Linked DNA regions of Homo sapiens: region 1 is linked to region 2. Evidence: promoter capture Hi-C in human tissues and cell types (Jung and others, 2019). All regions are on one chromosome and are shown on one strand. The core of a region is centred on a gene start or on the middle of the fragment in contact, and the rest is flanking DNA. Distances in the headings are between cores, read along the strand shown.

Region 1 (6,695 bases), core at 4,166-6,665, 680 kb before region 2:
TTGGGGGCCTTGGTAAGTCTCTATGGGGCTGGGGAGAGGAGGGAGTCCCAAGACAGGAAAGACTAGCCCCCAGCATGTGTGTCACCTTCTGCCCATCTCCAGGCACTCCAGGGGTCAGGGCTTTGTGAGCTCTTTTCCCTATCTATGAAGTAGGCAGGATGTGGTCTGCCTGGCCCAGCACTCAGGGTGTTCCTCAGTGACTGGGGGCTCTGTCAAGCACCAGCAAGGGTCTACGAGACAGCAGCAGGACAAATGACCACTGTATGCACAGTCAAGAGAACATATAGAAACATAAATGAATGAACAAATGATGAACATAGGCAATGAGGAGCAAGGCCCTGATAGCTCATCCTGGGGTGATAACTACTGGGCTATTCTCTGGGCTTAGGGAGCAGAAGGGCCTGGAGTCCCTACGGCCTGTGCCTCTCACAGCCTTCTCTCTCCTTCTTGCAGGAAACCAGCCATGTCCTTTGGGCTCTGTGGAGAGCTTTAGCCTTGCACGGCGGCGCTGGGAGGCATTGCCTGCCATGCCCACTGCCCGCTGCTCCTGCTCTAGTCTGCAGGCTGGGCCCCGGCTGTTTGTTATTGGGGGTGTGGCCCAGGGCCCCAGTCAAGCCGTGGAGGCACTGTGTCTGCGTGATGGGGTCTGAAGGCTTGGTGGGAGCTGTCCACTGGAGCAGCTCATTGCCAGAGGCAGCTATTTCTATGGCTCCTTTTGCTGCTGAGGACACTCACTGTGGCTCTGTGGGATGAGAGAGGCATGGGGGTGAGCACTTGAAACACTGCCTTGGGGCCTTGGGTTAGGGGAGCCTTTGTCTTTAGTGCAGGACACACATATGCTTACACCTACCTTTATCACCATTCGTTCATGAATCATGCCTAGCTCCATCCTTGCCCTGGGACCTACTAGGCCTTCCATCCAACTGGGAAATGGGGAGAAGCAAAGCTGGCCTCATGCTCTTCAGGGTCAGTTCCTATCTGGAGTTGACCAGGCCTACCCCAGTTGCCATTCCTGAAAAATCTCAGCTGCCAGGCTGCCTTTAGGGTCCCTGCAGACCCAGGAGAGTTGAGAGGGTGGGGGACACAGAGAGAATAGAGAGGATGTGGGAACTGCCAGAGGGCCGGAGCGCAGGAGTTCAAGTGGAGGAATGCTGGCTTTGAGCCCTCTACACTGCTGGTTGTATGACCTTGGACAAGTCACTTCACCTCTCTGTGCCTCAGCATCCTCATCTATAAATGGGGATCTCTGAAACCTTCCTACCCTACCTACCTCACAGGGCTGTTGTGAGGACCCAGGGAGTTTGGATGTGGAAGTAAAAGTGCTGCTAAAACCTAGTGTGTGGACCCTGGTGTGAACTCCCTTGTTTCCACTGCCCCTGCCTTCCTTTGGGGGTCTCAATGCCCCTAGGGATGAGGGTCCAGAAGGAGCCTCTTGGATCTGGTCGGTGTTCCCAAAGTGATTTGGTGTTTCTGTTCCATCTGAGCCTCAGCTTATTCTTTGGCAACATGTGATGACAGCGCCTCCTTACTGTCCTGGGGATTAGAGAGCACTAGGGCAGTAAGGAAGGGCTGTCACATGTCACCAAAGGATGGCAGGATAAGATGACCAGAGAAGTGCTCAGAAAACAACAGAATACCACAAGGTTAGGAAGACCTCCAGATCCAAGTTACAGAGTGTCTCCTTAGGGTCTCTGCTCACCCCCACAGGGAGGGGTGGTGCAGTGGGTTCTGTGGCCCAGGGCAGTCTCTTTCTGTCTCAGCTGTGGGGCAGCCGTCTCTTGGACAGGACTGTGTGGCCACCCAACAAACCCCTCAAAGGCAGCTGCCTCCTGAGAAAGCTGCCAACTCTTCCTTCTTCCAGCCTTTGTCGCCCACTAGTACTGGTCTCTGGGGTCTGCTTTCCCCATAGCTAAACTGAGTACTTGACCTGCTTCCCCAGTGATGCCTTTCATTCTAGGGTGAAGCACCTAGAAAGTCAGTGGCCCACAGGATATTTGCACATTGTCTGGCACGCTGGCAGAGGAAACCAACACAGAGATGTCTCTGGGGGAATGGGCTGTTTCCCAGAGGAGAAAGGTTGTGGGGAAGTTAGTCACTCCGCTGCCTTCATAAGGAGCCCTCCCTCAGTGTCACCCCCTTCACCCTGCCACCTGCTCTGTCCTGACTTCAACTTAGGCTGGGGACTGCCCTCTAATCTTCCTCTCTACAGCTGGGTTTACTGCAAGAACAGAGTAGTACTTGGGGCCCTGGAACCCACCTGATGTGGCTATAGCAATCCTCCTGGACTCTTAGCCTCCTGCAGGCCTTACCCTTTCTCACTTAGTGGCAGGGATCCCAGAGCAGCACCTCCCATGCCCAGCACAGAAACACACCATGGGCACAAGTGCCATGGGAGACAGGCACAGGACCTGGCAGCCTACTACTACCTTTCAGCCTCTTGGGCTACATCCCATTGTGGGCTGCAAGCACAGACAGGCTGCTGTGTCAGCTGTCCTTGTTTAATGCTCTGGACCAGTTTAGACACTCAGAGACCCCAGCATGAAGGTAGTGCTGCAGCAGCTTGGGTCTTGGGATCCCTGGGAGGTCAGGCAGTACGTCAGTGACCGGCGCCTGGGGCCCTACCTTGTAGCTGCCATAGTGGCCACCCTGGGATGGGCAGCAGAAGTTCTGCTGGTAGGTGGTCCTGGTATGGGAAGGCTGGACCTGCACAAAGTGGATGAGGTGCTGGGGGAGGCCACTGAGTCCTGGGCCTGGCCTGAAATCAGCCTGGTAAGAAGATTCCAGGGGCCCCTGCTGGCGCAACTCTATCTCACAGGGTGCCCAGCGCAGGAAGGTGTGCCGCTGCCACAGGCGCTCCAGGTCCTTCCGCCTTCCGATTCCCTGCAGCAGGCAATAGGGACCCTCCTCAACGGTATGGGCCCTTGGCCCACATTCCTGGCACCAAGCACCTTCTTGGGCCCCTCCTAACCCCAAGTCTGCTTGGTGATACCTGTCCTATGCCTGGCTGTCTTGGCCTGTACCCTGGCCTCCTTGGCCTGCCTCCCCAGTGATGTCTTTCATTCTAAGGTGAAGCACCCAGAAAGTTAGTGGCCCACAGGATACTTGCATATTGTCTGGCAAGTTGGCAGAGGAAACCAACATAGAGATGTCTCTGTTTGGGGGAATAGGCTGTTTCCCAGAGGAGAAAGTTTGTGGGGGAAGACAGCCACTCCTCTGCCTTCATAAGGAGCCCTCCCTCAGTGTCATCCCCTCCACCCTACCATCTGCTCTGTCCAGACTTCAGCTTAGGCTGGGGGACTGCCTGCCATTCTTCCTGTCTTCGGCACTCACTTTGTCAAAGGAAGTACGGTTGTCGTGCTTGGAGAAGAAGTGTCGCTGCGCCGGCTCCTTGAAAGACAGTGAGAAAGAAGGTGAATGGGGAAAATGATGCTTATTTACCCACCCTTACCTGGATCACTGCCTCAGGGTCCTTAATGGAGGGAAGTCACCAGGAGCCACTGCCCCTAAGCTGCTAAACTGCCAACAGACAGAGGGCAGAGACTAATTAAAGCAACACTTCAGTCCTGGGATATCTCAACCTGGGACTTGCCCTGAAGCAGAAGCCCGTGGAACCCTTATTGAGGAGGGTCCTCAATAAGGAGGCATCTGCTAGAACATCCTCCCATCAGGGGAGCAGTGGCCAAGTTTCAAGTTGGGCCTTAACTCTTGATTGCCCAGGACTCTAGTCCTCTCCTCCCCTGCATCCACACTTACTCCCCCATCAACATACCCAGCCTCTTGGCTCTAAATGCCATCTGAAAACTGGAATTTCTATCTCCAGCTCAAACTTTCTCCTGAACTTTGGGTTCAGTAGACAACTGCCTACTCCACATCTCCATGTAAATGCCTAATTGAGCATCTCCAAACATATGACTGAGCTTTGGGTCATCCCCAGACACACTCCACCTATAGCCTCCCCCAGCTCAGACCACGGCAGCCAGATCCTGTCAAACACCTTGAGTCCCCTTGATTCTCTTCTCTCATACCCCACATTGAATATGCAAGTATCCTGTTGATACTGTGGTCAAAATGTGCCCAGGACCAGACCACATCTCAGCATGCCCACTCTTTTCCCCGATCCAAGCCACATTACTCTCTTGCCTGAATTATTGCAAGAGCTTCCTGCCTGGTGTCCCTGCTTTCAAACTTACCCCTCCAGTCTGCTGTCTGCTTAGCAGCCAGCATAATTCTGTTAGTACATAAATGAGATCACATCTCATTTGCTGAAAATCCACAACAGTTCCTCCTATTTGTGATAGCCAAAGTCATCATAGTGGTCTGTGAGACCCACATGATATTGGTCCTTCTGTTACCTCCAGCCACACTGATTTCCTCACTGCTCCTCAGACACACCAGGTGCTCCCACTTAGGGCTTTGCACCACCTGTTCCTTCTCCTGGCCATATAATTCCCTCACACCTCCCTCTTTTCCTTCCTTGAGCACTAGGCCAATAGTTCCATCACCCTAACCCTGCATTTTTCACCTGCTAACATACTATATTGTTCTATGTGATGTTACCCCCACTGATTAGAACATCTCATGCCCCGCCATTAAACATAAGCTGCTTGTGGGCAAAGGCGGTCTGTCTTGCTCACATCTATAACTTCAGCACTGAGAATAATGCCTGACACAGCTCAATAAATGTTGCTGTTAAATCAATAAACAGGCTGGGCACGGTGGCTCACACCTGTAATCCCAGCACTTTGGGAGGCCGAGGCGGGTGGATCACCTGAGGTCAGGAGTTTGAGACCAGCCTGGCCAACATAGTGAAACCCCGTTTTTACTAAAAATACAAAAATTAGCCGGGCTTGGTGGCTCATGCCTGTAATCCCAGCACTTTGGGAGGCCGAGGCGGACAGATCACTTGAGGTCAGGAGTTCGAGACCAACCTGGCCAACATGGTGAAACCCCGTCTCTACTAAAACACACAAAAAAATTAGCTGGGTGTGATGGTGTTTGGCTGTAATCCCAGCTACTCAGGAGGCTGAAGCAGGAGAATTGCTTAAACCTGGGAGGCAGAGGTTGCAGTGAGCTAAGATTGAGCCACTGCACTCCAGCCTGGGCAACAGAAAAAAAAAAATTAATGAACAGGGACAGAAGGTCCTGGCCCCAGGGCATTTACTTTGGCTCAGTTGGAGCTAGAGAGCCTTGCTCCACTCCCATGCAGAGAAAGCCCATCTCTTAGGCCTCCAGACTTCAGCAGGAATCTGTCCCAAGAACACCTTCTTGCCTTTGTGCTTGGCTTCTGCCTGCAGAGCCATTCCCTCTCCAGTCACTCAGTTTCTCCTGCTGTAGACCTGAAGTGGCCAGATCTGGTGAGGTCAGGCTTGGCTGGCTTGGGAGTATAGGTAATGGCTGACAGCAGGTCCCCAGATAAAATACAGGGGCTGGCTCCATCCCTGAACCAGAATCTTCAGAGTAGAGCTTATTGTATGTGTGTTTAAGAGTTCCCTTTTTAGGCCAGGTGCGGTGGCTCACGCCTGTAATCCCAGCACTTTGGGAGGCCGAGGCGGGCGGATCACGAGGTCAGGAGATCGAGACCATCCTGGCTATCATGGTGAAACCCCGTCTCTACTAAAAATACAAAAAATGTGCTGGGTGTGATGGCGGGCGCCTGTAGTCCCAGCTACTCGGGAGGTTGAGGCAGGAGAATGGCGTGAACCCGGGAGGTGGAGCTTGTAGTTAGCTGAGATCACACCACTGCACTCCAGCCTGGGCGACAGAGTGAGACTCCGTCTCAAAAAAAAAAAAAAAAAAAAAAGAGTTCCCTTTTTAGAACCGCCTGCCTTAGACAGTCTGATGGTAGTCTTCAAGCAGAATGAAAACTCCAAGAAGGTGGGAAGCTTTCATTCCTCAAAATGCAAGCTGAGGCTGGGCACAGTGGCTCATGCCTATAATCCCAGCAGTTTGGGAGGCAGAGGCGGATAGATCACTTGAAGCCAGGAATTCGAGACCAGCCTGGCCAACATGGTGAAACCTTGTCTCTACTGAAAATACAAAAATTAGCTAGGTGTGGTGGTGGGCGCCTGTAATCCCAGCTACTCGAAAGGCTGAGGCAGGAGAATTGCTTGAACTTGGGTGGTGGAGGTTGCAGTGAGCCGAGATCTCACCACTGCACTCCAGCCTTGGCAACAGAGAGACTCTATCTCCAAGAAAAAAAAAAAAAAAAAAGCAAGCTGAGGCCGTGCAGTGGCTTACACCCGTAATCCCAGGACTTTGAGAGGCCAAGGAGGAAAGATTGCTTGAGCCCAGGAGTTCAAGACCGGCCTGGGCAGTGTGGAAAGGCTCCCAGACACTGTCTCTACAAAAAATAACAAATTAGCCAGGCGTGGTGGTGCATACCTGTGGTCCCAGCAACTAGGAAAGCTGAAGTGGAAGGATCACATGAGCTTAAGAGGTCAAGGGTGCAATGAGCCATGATCGTGCCACTGCGAACCAAGCTACAGACTGGGAGAAAATATTTATAAACCATATATCCAACAGAGGACTAGAATATATAAGGAAGTCTCTCAACTCAACAGTAAAATCACAGTCTAATTAGAAAATGGACAAACATGAAGACATCTAACCAAAGAAGATTTACAGACGACAAATAACACATGAAAATGTGTCCGGAATGGGTGGGTTCTTCGTCTCACTGACATCAAGACTGAAGC
Region 2 (5,798 bases), core at 1,910-4,409:
GACCAGCCTGGCTAACATAGCGAGACCTTGTCTCTAAAAACAATAATAAAATAAAATAAAATAAAACAGATGAAAAAAGATATACCATGCAGTCACCAAAAGACAGCTGAAGTGGCTATACTAATAGCAGATAAAATGGACTTTAAATTAGACAAGATAGGCCAGGCACGGTAGCTCACGCCTGTAATCCCAGCACTTTGGGAGGCCGAGGTGGGCGGATCACGAGGTCAGGAGTTTGAGACCAGTCTGGCCAACATAGTGAAACTCTGCCTCTACTAAAAATACAAAAAAAATTAGCCAGGCACAGTGGTGTGTGCCTGTAATCCCAGCTACTCGGGAGGCTGAGGTAGGAGAATCACGTGAACCCAAGAGGCAGAGGTTGCAGTGAGCCAAGATTGCGCCACTGCACTCCAGTCTGGGCCACAGAACGAGACTCCATCTCAAAAAAAAAATTAGGCAAGACAGACTTTGAATTAAAGTTACAAGAGACAAAGAAGGACAAAGAAGAACATTTAAAAAAAGTTCAATCCTGCAAGAAGAAACAATTATAAACTCCAGCCTGGGCGACACAGCACGATCCTGTTTCAAAAAAAAAAAAAAATTATTCCAAACAAAAACTTTACTTAAAAACATACAATTGGCCGGTCGTGGTGGCTCATGCCTGTAAACCCCAGCACTTTGGCAGGCCAAGGAGGGTGGATCACTTGAGTACAGGAGTTTCAAACCAGCCTGGGCAGCATGGCGAAATCCTGTCTCTACAAAAAACAAAAATTAGCTGGGCATGGTGACATGCACCTGTAGTCCCAGCTAGTTGTGAGGCTGAGGCAGGAGGATCGCTTGAGTCCAGGAGGTCAAGGCTGCAGTGAGCAGAGATTGTACCACTGCAGACCAGCTTGGGCAAGAGAGCAGGACTCTGTCTCAAAAATAACACCAACGAAAAAAATACCACACATACACACAATTAAAATATTCAACAATAACGTAGAAGTGGGAAAAGAATGTTAGTATTCTAAGCTCTTTGAGTTGCCTGGGAAAATGAGAAAGGTGTTGATTAACCTTGAAATTGGTAAGTTAAGGATACATACCTTAATTTCTAGGATAACCACTTATAAATGGAAATGGGGTATATAACGACCCAACTAACTGAGGGAAAAATGGAGAAATACAGAATATTTAACCAATTCCTACCAAGGCAAGAAAGGAGACAATAAGATATAATAGGCAAGGCAAAACAGAATCGACTAAAGACAATATGTTTACTCTTTATTTAATCAGTAATTGCAACAATTTTAAGTAGACTAAATGGTCCAGTTAAATACAAAGATTATCAGACTGGATTTTTAAAAGTCCAACTAAATGTTGTTTTCCAAGGCTGGGTGCGGTGGTTCACACCTGTAATCCTAGCACTTTGGGAGGCAGAGGTGGGTGGATTACTTGAGTCCAGGGGTTCAAGACCAGCCTGGGCAACATAGCAAGACCCCATCTCTACTAAAAATACAAAAAAAAAAAAATAGTCAAGCATGGTGGCAGGCGCCTGTAGTCCCAGCTACTTGGGAGGCTAAGATGGGAGAATCACCTTAGCCCAGGAGGTAGAGGCTGCAGTGAGCCGAGATGGCACCACTGCACTGCAGCCTGTGTAACAGAGTGAGACCCTGTCTCAAAATAAAATAAAATAAAGATCTTTGCAGTAAGCTAAAGTACTTTTTAATATACAAAAAAAGAAATAAATGCTGTTTCAAGGGATACATGTAAAACACAAGGACACAGAAAAGTTTAAAGTAAAAGGATAGGCCCTAGCACTTTGAGAGGCCAAGGTGGGTGGATCACCTGAAGTCAGGAGTTCGAGACCAGCCTGGCCAACATGGAGAAACCCTGTCTATGAAAAACACAAAAATTAGCTGGGCGTGGTGGCGCACGCCTGTAATGTCAGCTACTTGGGAGGCTGAGGAAGGAGAATCACTTGAACTCAGGAGGTGGAGGTTGCAGTGAGCCGAGATCACGCCACTGCACTCCAGCCTACACGACAGGAGCGAGACTCCATCTCAAAAATAAAATAAAATAAAAATAAATAAATAAAGTAAAAGGATAGAAGAAAATAGAGTAGGCAAACAGAAAATAGAGTACGCTTAGAGGCGAGCTTAATTTCTAGTCTAACCAAACAGCAGTGGCTCCCTCAGCATGGGGCTCAGGCTGTCAGCAACACAGGCCTAAACAAAGCTTTGCAAGTAAGCCAGCAGCCATCAGTGTCATGCCTGCCTTTCTGCTTCCTAGGGCCTTTAGCCCCACAAGACCCTGTGATTATTATCACCCACCATTCCCAGGGGTAACGCTGCCTTATCTCTTTTGCTAGGAGGTCCAAACCGGCCTGTCCACATCTGCTAGGGGAATCTTTCCCCACTAGCTGTACACTCAACAGAATGGCCCTACACGGTCAGCAGGACCCCTGGATAGGGGAGCATCTCCTTGCCTTCCCCATGTTAAACGGGTTTGCTGACATGGCGAATACATTGGGGTGTCTGGACAGTGAGATGACTCTGGGTAGAATAATTCCAAACCATCAAGTAAGGCACAGCAAACTCTCTTGGGTAGCCAGAAGCCTAGCAGGTTTCTATCTGGAAGAAATAAAAGGACTTGTTGATGTGGTGAAAGCTCACCCTTGCCCAGGCTAACGGTTTTGAAATCACATCTGTTTGTATAGGTGATCAAGGAAGCATCTATCTTCACTGAGCCATCTTAGTCCCCCTCAGGCTTAGCTCAGCTATCACCTCTACCAGAAAGCCTGTCCTGACCCACTTCTGCCCAGGTTGGGAAGCTCCCGTGGGGCCTCGTCTAGGAGGAAGGTTCTCATCACTTGTCTGGATTCCGGGGTTGGACCGCCTGGAGGCCCAACACCTCAAGGCCCTGAAGCGGTACCCGGGCAAACACCGGGCCCCAACACTGCAGTCACTCACCACTGCAAGTGGAAGGTGTGGCCGCAGTGGATGGCGGCCACGTCGCGGGAGTGATCGAAGAAGTCGGAGCAGATAGTGCACAGAGCACGGATAGGCATGATGGCTGGACTCAAGGGGCCCAGGCAGCCAAAGAAACTGCTACAGGTCCGGCTTCGTAGACGCGCCCCCGCGCCTCCGCTTGCTTCAAATTTGGCTCCGCAGCACGACTTCCTGGAGCGGGCCGGAAGTGACAACACAAAACTTTGGGCGGAGCGTGAATACTTCGCCTGGATTGGACAAATTCTCGGATGGGCGGAACTATGGGCGGGGCTTAGCGGCCCCGAGGCCGTAGAGAATCCTGGGCGGAGCGCGGTCGCTCTCAGGCGTCCTCTGGGGAGACTCGACCTGCCACTTGAGAGCGCAGCATTATATCAAGGCGGGGAGCAGCGAGGCTGCCAGCTGGACCCTTTTCCAGGGCAAGGCAGCGCATTGTGGTCCCATGCCAGAGCTGGCGCGAGGCAGGCTGGGCCAAGGCAGAGAAAACCGCAGCCGCAAGGGAATAGAACAATGGTCCCGATGGGTCCCTTGGGCTCTGGACAGTGATGGACCATGCGCTATGGTCTGTAGTTCCCATAGACCACAATACCCTACCCTCTCAGTCCTCAGTTCCGGGCGATTCTAGAAAGATGGACACATAGGCCCCAGTCCCTCAGGTCACCCCAGGCCAACCTTGGCTTCATCCAAGTAAGATATGACTATCCTTGAGTTTGGAGACACTAGGGCCAGTACCCTGACTTTAGCTCTTAGCTCTCAGGAGGATCAGTTATGCTTGAGACTGTAGTAGGGTTGGAATTTTGGAGGCCCAGATGCTTCAAAGACTAGAGACTAACAAATCCTTTTTATTATTCCCACATCAGAGAAGTTATCTTTGAGGAGGTTATCTTTGAGGTCCTCCCAGAGAGCAGCATCCCTGGTGAGTTCACCCAGGCCCACCTGGGCTGGAGTAAGTCAACTTTTGGGTTTTTAGGCTTAGTATCTGTGGCAGTGTTACTCCCTCTACCCAGAAGAAACCCTGTGCATAGTCCCATAATATAAAGCTGATCTGCTCCAGCTGAAATAGACCCAGAGTGAGATTTCATTTGGGGCATAGGTGGAAAGCACAGGTGTTCACAGAAAGAAGGAATCAACACAGAGCAGCATAGAATCTTTGTGCATTGCTCACCCTACACCCTCTCCCTAGCTCAGGGAAGCTATCTTTGGCTATGAGCAGGGTCTGTCCTTGCGGTGGCTGGCCCAGGTAGATTCCAGCTCTATGCCTAAATCAAGAGTAAGGCTCCTCGGTCAACAGGAGTCAAAAACAGCAGCCCTTACTTGAGCTCTCAGCCCAGGGAGTATTCCTTGGTCCAAATGCAGCCCAAGACCCACTACTCACATGGATTTCTAGAGTTCAGAGGACCCCCACCACCACCACCATTGAGGAATACACTGTGGTGAGGATGATCTTCACCCTCAGCCCAAGAAATCCACAGGGCACTGTTCACTACTACTCCCAGCCACTACTTGTGAACCTGCTCCCAGCCTCTCCCTTCCCCACTGCCTTCCAGGGGCTCCTCCCCAGTAGGACAGAGGAAGCAAAGGCGAGAGGGTGGCCAGAGGCTTTGCAGGGTGATGTTTATTTGCCAGGTTCAGTAGGCACACAGTTAACCCACCGACCTTCACACACCAGAGCAGACCCACAGGCATGCAGGGAGAAGGGCAGGACCACCACGGAGTGCCGAGCAAGGGCGAGGACCAATGTGGCTGCCTATCCAGGCTGTGGTAGGGTCTGACAAAGGGCACCTGTCAGGAGCCTCCCTCAGGAAACTGGGGAGTTTAACCCTACTTCCTCATCCCAGAAAAAGCAACTCAATGTGGCTCTGAGGCACCTGGGCCTCTGATAGAAGTGAGCTGTAGAAAGAGGGAGTTCCTCTTCATTTCATTGTTGAACTGAGCAGAAAATCTGCCCCTGTAAAGGGCAAACCTCCAAATCAGATTATGAGTTATTGCCATGCAGCAAGCCCCCTAGGGTGGAGAGGACTTGTGGGCTGAGATTGTAGGAGGTGGGCATCTAGGAAGAGCAAGGAGGTATCAGCCCTCCCTGTTTGGCCCAGGGTAAGGACCCAGTAAGGCTGGGACACTGGGTGCTGGGCTTGTACTCTGCCCTGCCAGGTCTCATTGCCACGTCCTAATTGTTCCTCCTTTCCCTTAGAGGCTCATGAGGTTCAGGGTACAGGGCAGCCCACTGCAGGACTCGGAAAGGCAGGAAATAACACAAATAACAGGGTCTTAGGAAGGACAAAAATGGAAGCTTCTGCCCTCCTACTCATTCTCTCCACTCCTGAGGACCTCCACAGCTAGTGAGCAGTATCCCTAGCCATGTGCCAAGTCTGGACTTAAACATACTGCCCTACCTTTCTGCATCCTCTATACCAGCCTGTATCTGCTCCTAGAGCAGCCCACACACCACAGGCACACACCTTCATGTGCAGGAGCCTAAGACCGCTGACAGGGCCTCGCTGGAGGACCAGCTCTCAGGGCAAGGCCGCCCAAGTTTAGGGCCTGGGAGAGTGTGGGACCTGCAGGGCCTGCCTAGGGGAATGGTGAGGCAAGAAGGGAAGGGGAAGGAGAGCAGGAGCCCCCTGAGTATCCCTAGAGCAGCATCCCACAAGGAACAGAAACTGGTGAAGCTAGCAAAAGACAGAAAAGCCACAAGGAATCCATGCAGGGGCTGGGGCCGGCCCTGCCACTGGCCTGCCCACCACTCACACACATACACACAGGAGACGAGACTGCTCTCCCGTGACCCCTAGTTATGCCCCACTGGGATGT

What was found. Contacts are between HindIII fragments. The study calls those that stand out against the background at their distance.
Region 1: a fragment that was not itself captured here is called in contact with the fragment with the promoter of TRAIP in region 2 in 2 of the 25 tissues and cell types used here (adrenal gland and pancreas).

What each region holds. Positions count from the first base shown.
Region 1 is chr3:49,175,152-49,181,846 of GRCh38, forward strand. It overlaps CIMIP7 (ciliary microtubule inner protein 7), which reads right to left. Exons shown (of 4, transcript NM_001080528.3): 3 at 3,331-3,387; 4 at 2,483-2,901. The coding sequence ends at 2,485. KLHDC8B (kelch domain containing 8B) reads left to right here. Exons shown (of 6, transcript NM_173546.3): 5 at 1-12; 6 at 454-1,335. The coding sequence ends at 650. Among named protein-coding and RNA genes, the nearest start is that of KLHDC8B, 6.9 kb to the left of the region's middle. The HindIII fragment of the contact is 5,587 bases long and covers 2,623-6,695 here.
Region 2 is chr3:49,853,405-49,859,202 of GRCh38, forward strand. TRAIP (TRAF interacting protein) reads right to left here and starts at 3,160. Exons shown (of 15, transcript NM_005879.3): 1 at 2,952-3,160. The coding sequence starts at 3,049. It overlaps CAMKV (CaM kinase like vesicle associated), which reads right to left. Exons shown (of 11, transcript NM_024046.5): 11 at 4,585-5,798. The HindIII fragment of the contact is 12,385 bases long and covers 1-5,798 here.